Regions from separate parts of the Homo sapiens genome. Here regions 1 and 2 are each linked to region 3. Evidence: promoter capture Hi-C in human tissues and cell types (Jung and others, 2019). All regions are on one chromosome and are shown on one strand. Each heading gives the region's core, a stretch centred on a gene start or on the middle of the fragment in contact. The rest is flanking DNA. Distances are from core to core; before and after follow the strand shown. Region 1 has its middle 2.2 kb from the start of TRIDDENT. Region 2 overlaps ADCY9 (adenylate cyclase 9). Region 3 holds the start of CORO7 (coronin 7).

What was found. Contacts are between HindIII fragments. The study calls those that stand out against the background at their distance.
Region 1: a fragment that was not itself captured here is called in contact with the fragment with the promoter of CORO7 in region 3 in 1 of the 25 tissues and cell types used here (dorsolateral prefrontal cortex).
Region 2: a contact is called between a fragment that was not itself captured here and the fragment with the promoter of CORO7 in region 3, in 4 of the 25 tissues and cell types used here (IMR-90 fibroblasts, bladder, dorsolateral prefrontal cortex and 1 more).

Annotation. Positions count from the first base shown.
Region 1 is chr16:3,951,326-3,954,025 of GRCh38, forward strand. It overlaps a transcript of ADCY9 not described here. Among named protein-coding and RNA genes, the nearest start is that of TRIDDENT, 2.2 kb to the left of the region's middle. The HindIII fragment of the contact is 4,154 bases long and covers 1-2,700 here.
Region 2 is chr16:4,107,966-4,110,665 of GRCh38, forward strand. All of the region lies in intron 2 of ADCY9 (adenylate cyclase 9), which reads right to left. Among named protein-coding and RNA genes, the nearest start is that of ADCY9, 7.1 kb to the right of the region's middle. RefSeq lists an enhancer at 477-976. The HindIII fragment of the contact is 6,430 bases long and covers 1-2,700 here.
Region 3 is chr16:4,415,333-4,418,032 of GRCh38, forward strand. CORO7 (coronin 7) reads right to left here and starts at 1,264. Exons shown (of 28, transcript NM_024535.5): 1 at 1,127-1,264. The coding sequence starts at 1,186. CORO7-PAM16 (CORO7-PAM16 readthrough) reads right to left here and starts at 1,264. Exons shown (of 31, transcript NM_001201479.2): 1 at 1,127-1,264. The coding sequence starts at 1,186. It overlaps LOC124903635 (a long non-coding RNA gene), which reads right to left. Exons shown (of 3, transcript XR_007064963.1): 3 at 1,393-1,629. The HindIII fragment of the contact is 38,450 bases long and covers 1-2,700 here.

The DNA of each region.
Region 1 (2,700 bases), core at 138-2,637, 460 kb before region 3:
CAACCTCCGCCTCTTGGGTTCAAGTGATTGTCCTGCCTCAGCCTCCCGAGTCACTGGGATTACAGGCACCCACCACCACTCCCAGCTAATTTTTGTTATTTTTAGTAAAGAGGGGGTTTCACCATGTTGGCCAGGCTGGTCTCAAACTCCTGGCCTCAAGCAGTCCTCCTGCCTTGGCTTCCCAAAGTGCTGGGATTACAGGCATGAGCCACCGTGCCCGGCTGGGATGACTATTTTAATCTCAAGAGAGCCATCTGGGTTCCTTCCAGGGCACAATTCTATTTAAGGATATACTTTCTTATTTTTACACAAGTTTGATAACTGGATAAAAAAAAGACGAACTTTTTTTTTTTTTTTTTTGCATGGACCAAAAAATGTAGCCATAAGAGCATTTGTTAATACGCACGTCTAACATCCTCCTTCCCACCTCCCTGTGCAGCACAAAGTGGTAAAGACAGCAAGAATTTTCTTTCTAAACAGTTGGGCTGAAATTAAACAACAACAACAACAAAAACCCAAATGCCCATTCTCCTCCCAGCGGAAGTACAACCTCTCTTTGTATCATGTTACTCATCCGCTGCACACACCTGTTCATCCAACAACAGCTAACAAAAGTCAGACTCCGAGTTAAGCGATGTACACATCACAGTTTGTGCTGGAAATCTGATCCAAGCACATGGACAGAACTTTCTATGGTTCTCGGCTCCTAAGCTTGGCAGCTTGTTTTCAGCGTATTCTTAAAAACCTAGGAAACTGGCAATCATACTTCTAAGTTAAAAGATTGGGAAATCAGGCCAGTGAATAAATACTTACTTTGGATCTGCACTATTGATGAAAAATAAAAAATCACTGGAAAAAAATGAGCCCCTTTCTTCTATTTTTGCTCAAAGCAGTCCAAAGAAAACAAGTTTTGGTTCACTGCTGTCTGTGAGCTCAGTGTTGAACAAATTCCAGCAAAATCACAGAGAAAGTTGGAACCAGATTTGCAGCGCTCTATCTCATACATGTTTCTTCTTCTTCTTTTTTTTTAAGAGACAGGGTCTCGCTCTGGTGCCCAGGCTGGAGTGCAATGGCACAATCACAGTTCACTGCAGCTTTGAACTCCTGGATTCAAGCGATCCTCCTGCCTCAGGCTTCTGAATAGCTGGGACCACAGGCACGCACCACCACCCCCAGGTGCCTTTTATATCATTTGTAGAGATGGGGTCTCACTATGTTGCCCAGGGTGGAGTGCAGTGGCATGATCATAGCTCACTGCAGCCTCCAACCCCTGTTGCCAAGGCTGGTTCCAAACTCCTGGGCTCAAGTGATCCTCCCACTGTGGTCTCCTAAAGCACTGGGATTATAGACGTGAACCACCACAGCTACCCCGTGGTTCTTAAAAAGGGGTCTCCTTAAAAAGGAAGCTTCACCTTCCTTTTTGGTGTGAGGGAGACAGACCGTCAGGGAGAGGGCACTTTGTTCTTCTAATTGCCTTTCTGCAGAGGTTCCTGCTCAAGGAACGGGACGCCTAAACCTCAAATCCCCAGTGGCATTCAAGGCTGCTCGCAGGCACAGGGCGTGTTCTGGCCAATCCTGTTCGAGCAAGGGGAGCTGACATTGGCCCAGCACAGGCAGGCTGCACAGAGCTGCAGCCCATTCTTCCTGGAAGCGCCTGCATCAGAGCCAAGGACAGGCCACCTAGTAGCAGTGTCCCTGGAGCCTGGTGCTTGGCTCAGTACATTAAAATGCAACAACCAGGCCGGGTACAGCAGTTCATGCCTGTAATCCCAGCATTTTGGGAGGCTGAGGTGGGCGGATCACTTGAGGTCAGGAGTTCGAGACCAGCCTGGCCAACATGGCGAAATCCCATCTCTACTAAAAATACAAAAATTAGCTGGGCGTGGTGGCCTGTGCCTATAGTCCCAGCTACTTGGGAGGCTGAGGCAGGAGAATCACTTGAACCTGGGAGGCAGAGGTTGCAGTGAGCCGAGATCGCGCCACTACACTCCAGCCTGGGCGACAGAGCGGGGCTCCATCTCAAAAAATATATACGTATTTCACAGATACAGTCCTTCCTCGTTTTGGTAATTGACAGAGCATAAGCAGTTTTTAATTTTTTCAAATTTACAATTAGGCTCCTGCACGGCAACTCTCTTCCTGTGAACTGAAGGGAAACTTGGAGTCTCCCTCTCCACAGGGTTCTCGTCTTCTGGAAAAGAGAAGATGGGAAAATGCGGATAAGAAGAGGGTTAGAGGGGAGGAAAGAAATAAAAACCGAGCAATTTCTAGAAAACATGATGATTAAAAAAAAACCATCCACGCTTTTGGAATGGACGGATTCTTTAACACCTGTGGATTTCCTTATTCTGTGACTAGCAAGCTCCCAAGCCCACAGGTAGGAAGCTTCAGCCAGTGTGTGTGGAAAAAACGCCGGTTTTGGGATACGACGGACAAGTCAGAAGCCTGCTTGAACCGCCGTCACCCCTTTGCAGCCATCCAACACCACGAACAGCAAAAACATCAGGTTCTGGCAACCTGTGGGGACAAAGTGACCATCAGCACGGGGAGGTCGCTGTCAGAGCCGCGTCACAGCTCTTACGCCTCCCAGAATGGTTTTTGGTGTGAGGATTGCTGCATGGATTGAGAAGGTGGAATTTGATTGGAATAACTGGATCATCTCACGGATGGCTGAATCCTAAAATGCCTACAAAGCGTGAA
Region 2 (2,700 bases), core at 156-2,655, 310 kb before region 3:
CGGGTCTCCTCCCCAAGTTGCTCCACAAGCATAAAGTTTGGCTGGGGAAAAAAGCTTTTTTAATTTCTGCATCTGACAATGTGATCACTCCCTGGTATTCCCCTCTTCAGAGATATGACCATGGGTGTGGATGAGAGCGGAGGAGCATCTTCATTCTGTCTTCCTAATATTTACACGGGAAAAGAAGATGCCTGTAGATATTTTCTAACAGTTTCATTTTCTGTCTTTGTGACCCTGTATCTATGACAGGAAAAGCCAACAGCTCGAGATAACACGTCTCACCATTTTTTGCTTGTGGCCCAAGGCAGAATACAACAGCCACGGTTCCCTCAGGCCTAGCGGTTTCATCCCAAATGCTGTGGAAGGTCCCTCACCTTAATCAGACCGTTTCTTCATTTTTTTTTTTTTTTTTTTTTTTTTTTTTTGGCGACAAAGTCTCGCCCTATCGCCCAGGCTGGAGTGCAATGGCACGATCTCGGCTCACTGCAAACTCCACCTCCTGGGTTCGAACGATTCTCCTGCCTCAGCTTCCCAAGTGGCTGGGACTAAAGGCGCCTGCGACCACACCCAGCCAATTTTTGCATTTTCAGTAGAGACAGGGTTTCACCATGTTGGTCAGGCTGGTCTCAAACTCCTGACCTCCTGATCTGCCCACCTCGGTCTCCCAAAGTGCTGGGATTACAGGCATGAGCCACCACGCCCGGCCCATTTCTCCATATCTTTAATAACTGTCCCTCACACTTTTTTTTTTTTTTTTGAGACAGGGTCTCATTCTTGTCGCCCAGGCTGGAGTGCAATGGTGCAATCTTGGCTCACTGCAACCTCCGTCTCCCAGGTTCAAGCAATTCTCCTGCCTCAGCATCCCGAGTAGCTGGGATTACAGGTACCTGCCACCACACCTGGTTAATTTTTGTATTTTTAGTAAATATGGGGTTTCACCACGTTGGCCAGGCTGGTCTCAAACTCCTGACCTCAGGTGATCCGCCTACCTCGGCCTCCCAAAGTGTTGAGATTACAGGCATGAGCCACCATGCCTGGCCCCTCACTTTTTAGATTATTTCCAAAATCCTAGCAGTATGCTAAAAATTCCTGCAACCTTCTCCCAGTGACTGGCCACCCTAGATAAGATTTCTCACACTCGTACACCCCATCTGCTGTATCCCCTTCCTGCTTTATGTTTGTTCACAAAACACTTTTTCTATTTTACTTATTTATGGTTTGACTCCCCTGTTGTCCCCTCTATTAGATCTCCCCTATTTGAAGGCCTGGTTTTTGTTTCTTAGAGACAGGGTCTCACTCTGTCGCCCAGGCTGGAATGCAGTGGTGCAATCACGGCTCTCTGCAACCTCGACCTCGTGGGCTCCAGCGATCCTCCTATATTATTGACTTAAAAATTCTTGTCCCCTATTACAAGAGCAGGAATTGTTGTCTGTTTTGTTTACGGCTGTATTGCCAGAACCCAGAACCGTGCCTGGCACGGAGTAAATGATTTGCTGAATGAGTAAGCAAGCCAGGGGTTCCGGGCCTCTGTACTCTGCAAGTCCATCCTGCATTCTCCATTCATACCATAGCAACTTCAAAGGCCCCTCACCCATTCCTGACTCCACATTGTCGCCAAGTCACTTCCAGAAACTTAAAATGCCATTTCCCATTCACATGGTCAAGCCCTTCCCCTCCTGCCAGTCGTTTGTTTAAATCTGGCTTGCAGTCCCATCAAGCTGCTCTTCCTAATGCCACTCAGATCCCATCACCTCCATCACTGCTACTGTAACTTTGGATTGGGCCACCATCACCCCTACCTGGGATTTACTCGACACCTCATTAATCTCTTTCCAACCCACACTCACTAGCTCTGAAAGAGTGAACTTTCTAAAACTGCAAGTCAGATCACCTAAGCCCCCTGTTGAGTGGTTCCCTGACACCTATGGGGTCAAATGCAAACTCCTTCCCACGCTACCCATGGCCTTCCTTGTCCTGATGAACAACTAACAATCGTCCGCCCCCACAGAGAAGCACAGGGCCCAGCCATACCCACCTCTCCGCTCTGCCCTGGTGCTCTTCTGTCCACCTGGAGAGCCACAGCCTGATCTCAGGACCCAGCTCCAGCAGGAGCCCCCTCTAAAGCGCTCCCCACTCCCGAACATACTCCACAACATTTTTAACTGTGAGCTCACGGAGGTTGGGAACTATTAACGCAGGTCAGACGCGCCCCAAAGTGGGGCCGAGCCCAAGAGGGTTCTTGGCTTTGCCCAGGAAATAATTCAAGGGTGAGCCGGTGGCAGGAAAGAAAACACCTTTATTGAAGAGGCAGGCAGTGTTATACGGCTCCATGACTGCTCCTGCAGAGCTGGGCTTTCCCAAAGGCGGAAAGTAGCAGCTCAGGGCAGTTTTGCAATCATACTTATACCTACTTTTTTTTTTTTTTTTTTTTTTTTTTGAGACGCAGTCTCGCCTAGGCTGTCGCCCAGGCTGGAGTGCAGTGGACATGATCACAGCTCACTGCAACCTCCACCTCCTGGGTTCAAGCGATTCTTCTGCCTCAGCCTCCCGAGCACCTGGGATTACAGGCGCACACCACCACACCAGGCTAATTTTTGTATTTTTAGTAGAGACGGGGTTTCACTATATTGGCCACACTGGTCTCCAACTCATGACCACAGGTGATCCACCCGCCTTGGCCTCCCAAAGTGCTGGGATTAC
Region 3 (2,700 bases), core at 14-2,513:
CCCTTCTGGCCTCAGCTAAAATGCCATCTACTCCAGGCAGCCTTTCCTGACCACGCTACTGAGACTGGCCCCCTCCATTCTCCATCCCAGTCCCTCATGTGTGTTCTTCAATGTCGTTATGAAAACCTCCAATGCTCTTGTTTGTCTGCTTGCTGTCTCCCTCATGAGGCTACAAGTGCCACAGGGGAAGGAAAATGCCGTTGTGTTCACCGGGATGTCTCCAGCAGCTTAGCACAGCATAAAGTGGAAGCAGAGGAAATATAGTCCACACTACAAAAACGGAACCTCTACCCAGACTGCCCTGACTTGCTCTGGGACCCTGATGGGGTCACTTGAGGTCAACTCCTAGGCCCAGTTATCGGAGGACACTCCCAGGCCTTACAAATAACACGGAAAGCGGAAGAGCAGAGCTGACATCGTTTCCAAGGCGCACCCCTCATCAGTCCTCCTGCCGTTTCGGGGGTCCGAAGGGTCTCCCGGCACCTGGCTCAGCAATTCTTTGGGGCTCCACCTGCTCAGGCTTCCCCAGGCCCCACCCAGCCGTGGCAGCATCACCGAGATAAAGAAAGAGCTTGCGCCAGCGGCGAGAGGAGGAAGCACCGGCGGAAACCCGAGGGAGGGGCGCGTGCGGCCGAGGGGCTCCCTCCCCACCACTGACACACTTGGGCTCGCCGGGGCCAGAGGAGAGAGGGGCGTCTCCCCACAGCCCAGCCAGGGGCAGGGGCGACCCGGGGCGGCAGGGAGGAGGAGCCAGGCGCCGGCAGCGCCCCGAGCCCCGGCTCCCGGCGAGGCCGACCGGAAGCTGGGAAGGCAGGCGGCCTCGCAGGCCTGGGCCCCGGCTAGGAGGGCTGCGCCGCCTCGGGGGTCCCGGGGCGAGGTGGGCGAGGCGGGCAGACCGCCAGGGTCACCGAGCGCCAGAGCGAGTCACGGGAGTGCCGGACTCTGCCCTCCGGCGGCGACGAAACGGCCCGGACGCCGGGGCCCTGGCCTGAAGGGGGGTTCCCCGGGGATGGAGGTCTCGGGGTTCCAGACGGCCCTGGAGGGCACCCCTGTGGGGTCCGGGCAGGGGGAGGGGCAGCCGGACGGGGCCCGAGGCGACAGCGCCCGGTCCTCGGGCCGGACTCACCTCGCGGCGGGGCGGCCGAGCCTCGGTGTGCCGGAACTTGGACACCCTGAAGCGGTTCATGGCGACGGGCACGGCGGCGGACGCGTCTTCGAGGACCCCGGGCGTCGGGTCTCAGGTGCACGCTGAGCAACCGCGACTCCCGCTGCCTCGGCCCCACCCGGGACCCAATGCCGCGGTCACGCCCCCGGCGCGCCCCACTGCCAATCGCAGCCGTCTCCGGCCCCCTGGGCCACGCCCCCAAGCCCCTCTCCTTTCGCGCGCGCACCACCGGTCCCGCCTCCCGGCCAATCCAGGTACGGCCGCCCCGCGAGGCCACGCCCTGATACCGAGGGGACGGACTGGCGCGGGTGGGAGGTCACGTGGGGCGCAGCTGTCAGCCCACGTCTCCTGCGGTGCTTGCTTGCGTGGGGTCTCGGCTGCAGCATTCGCGATTTTGTGTGCAGGATTTGCTGTGGAGTCTTTGCGGTGTACCTAGCACGCCTTCCAGCACTATCTACCTCTTCCTGTAGAGAGGGGAGAAATTAGCTCCATTTCAGAGACAGGAAACCCCCGGCTAAAGGAGAGTGTAAACTGTCGGTCCCCAGGTCACACCAGTGGTAAGAGGCAGAGGGGGAACAGGGGCCCAGGTCTAAAGCAAATCCCTGTCCACCGGGCCTACTCAAAAGCCTCTGCATCCGGCCAGGCGCTCTGCATCCGGCCAGGCGCGGTGGCTCAGGTCTGTAATCCCGAACTTTGGGAGACTGAGGCAGGAGTATCCCTTGAGCCCAAGAGGTCGAGGCTGCAGTTATCTGTGACCGTGCCACTGCACTCCAGCCTGGGAGACAGAAAGAGACCCTGCCTCTAAAAATAATAATAATAATAGCTTTTAATTTTTCTTTAGTATTTATTCATTTATTTGACACGGAGTCCCTGTCACCCAGGCTGGAGTGCAGTGGCGCGATCTCAGCTCACTGCACCCTCTGCCTCGCGGGTTCAAGCAATTCTCTTGCCTCAGCCTCCCGAATAGCTGGGATTACAGGCGCCTGCCACCGCGCCCAACTAATTTTTTATTTTTAGTAAGAGACGGGGTTTCACCATGATGGTCAGGCTGGTCTCGAACGAGACTCAAGCAGTCCTCCCAACTTGGCCTGCCAAAGTGTGGGGATTATAGGAATGAGCCAACGCACCCAGCTGATTCTTGCATTTCTAAGGTTTGAAAAGCAATGCTTACATTTTATCTTAGTTCGGGCAGAAGTGTATTTACTGTGAACCAAAGTCACTTGTGGTTTATTGAAAAGGCTTTTTGTTTGTTTGTTTTGAGACAGAGTCTCACTCTGTTGCCCAGGCTGGAGTGCAGTGGTGTCATCTCAGCTCACTGCAACCTCCACCTCCTGAGTTCAAGCGATTCTCCTGCTTCAGCCTCCCAAGCAGCTGGGATTACAGGTGTGCGCCACTACTCCTAATTTTTGTATTTTTAGTAGAGATGGGATTTTGCCATGTTGGCCAGGCTGGTCTCAAACTCCTGACCTCAAGTGATCCACCTGCCTCAGCCTCCCAAAGTGCTGGGATTAGAGGCATAAGCCACTGCGCCCAGT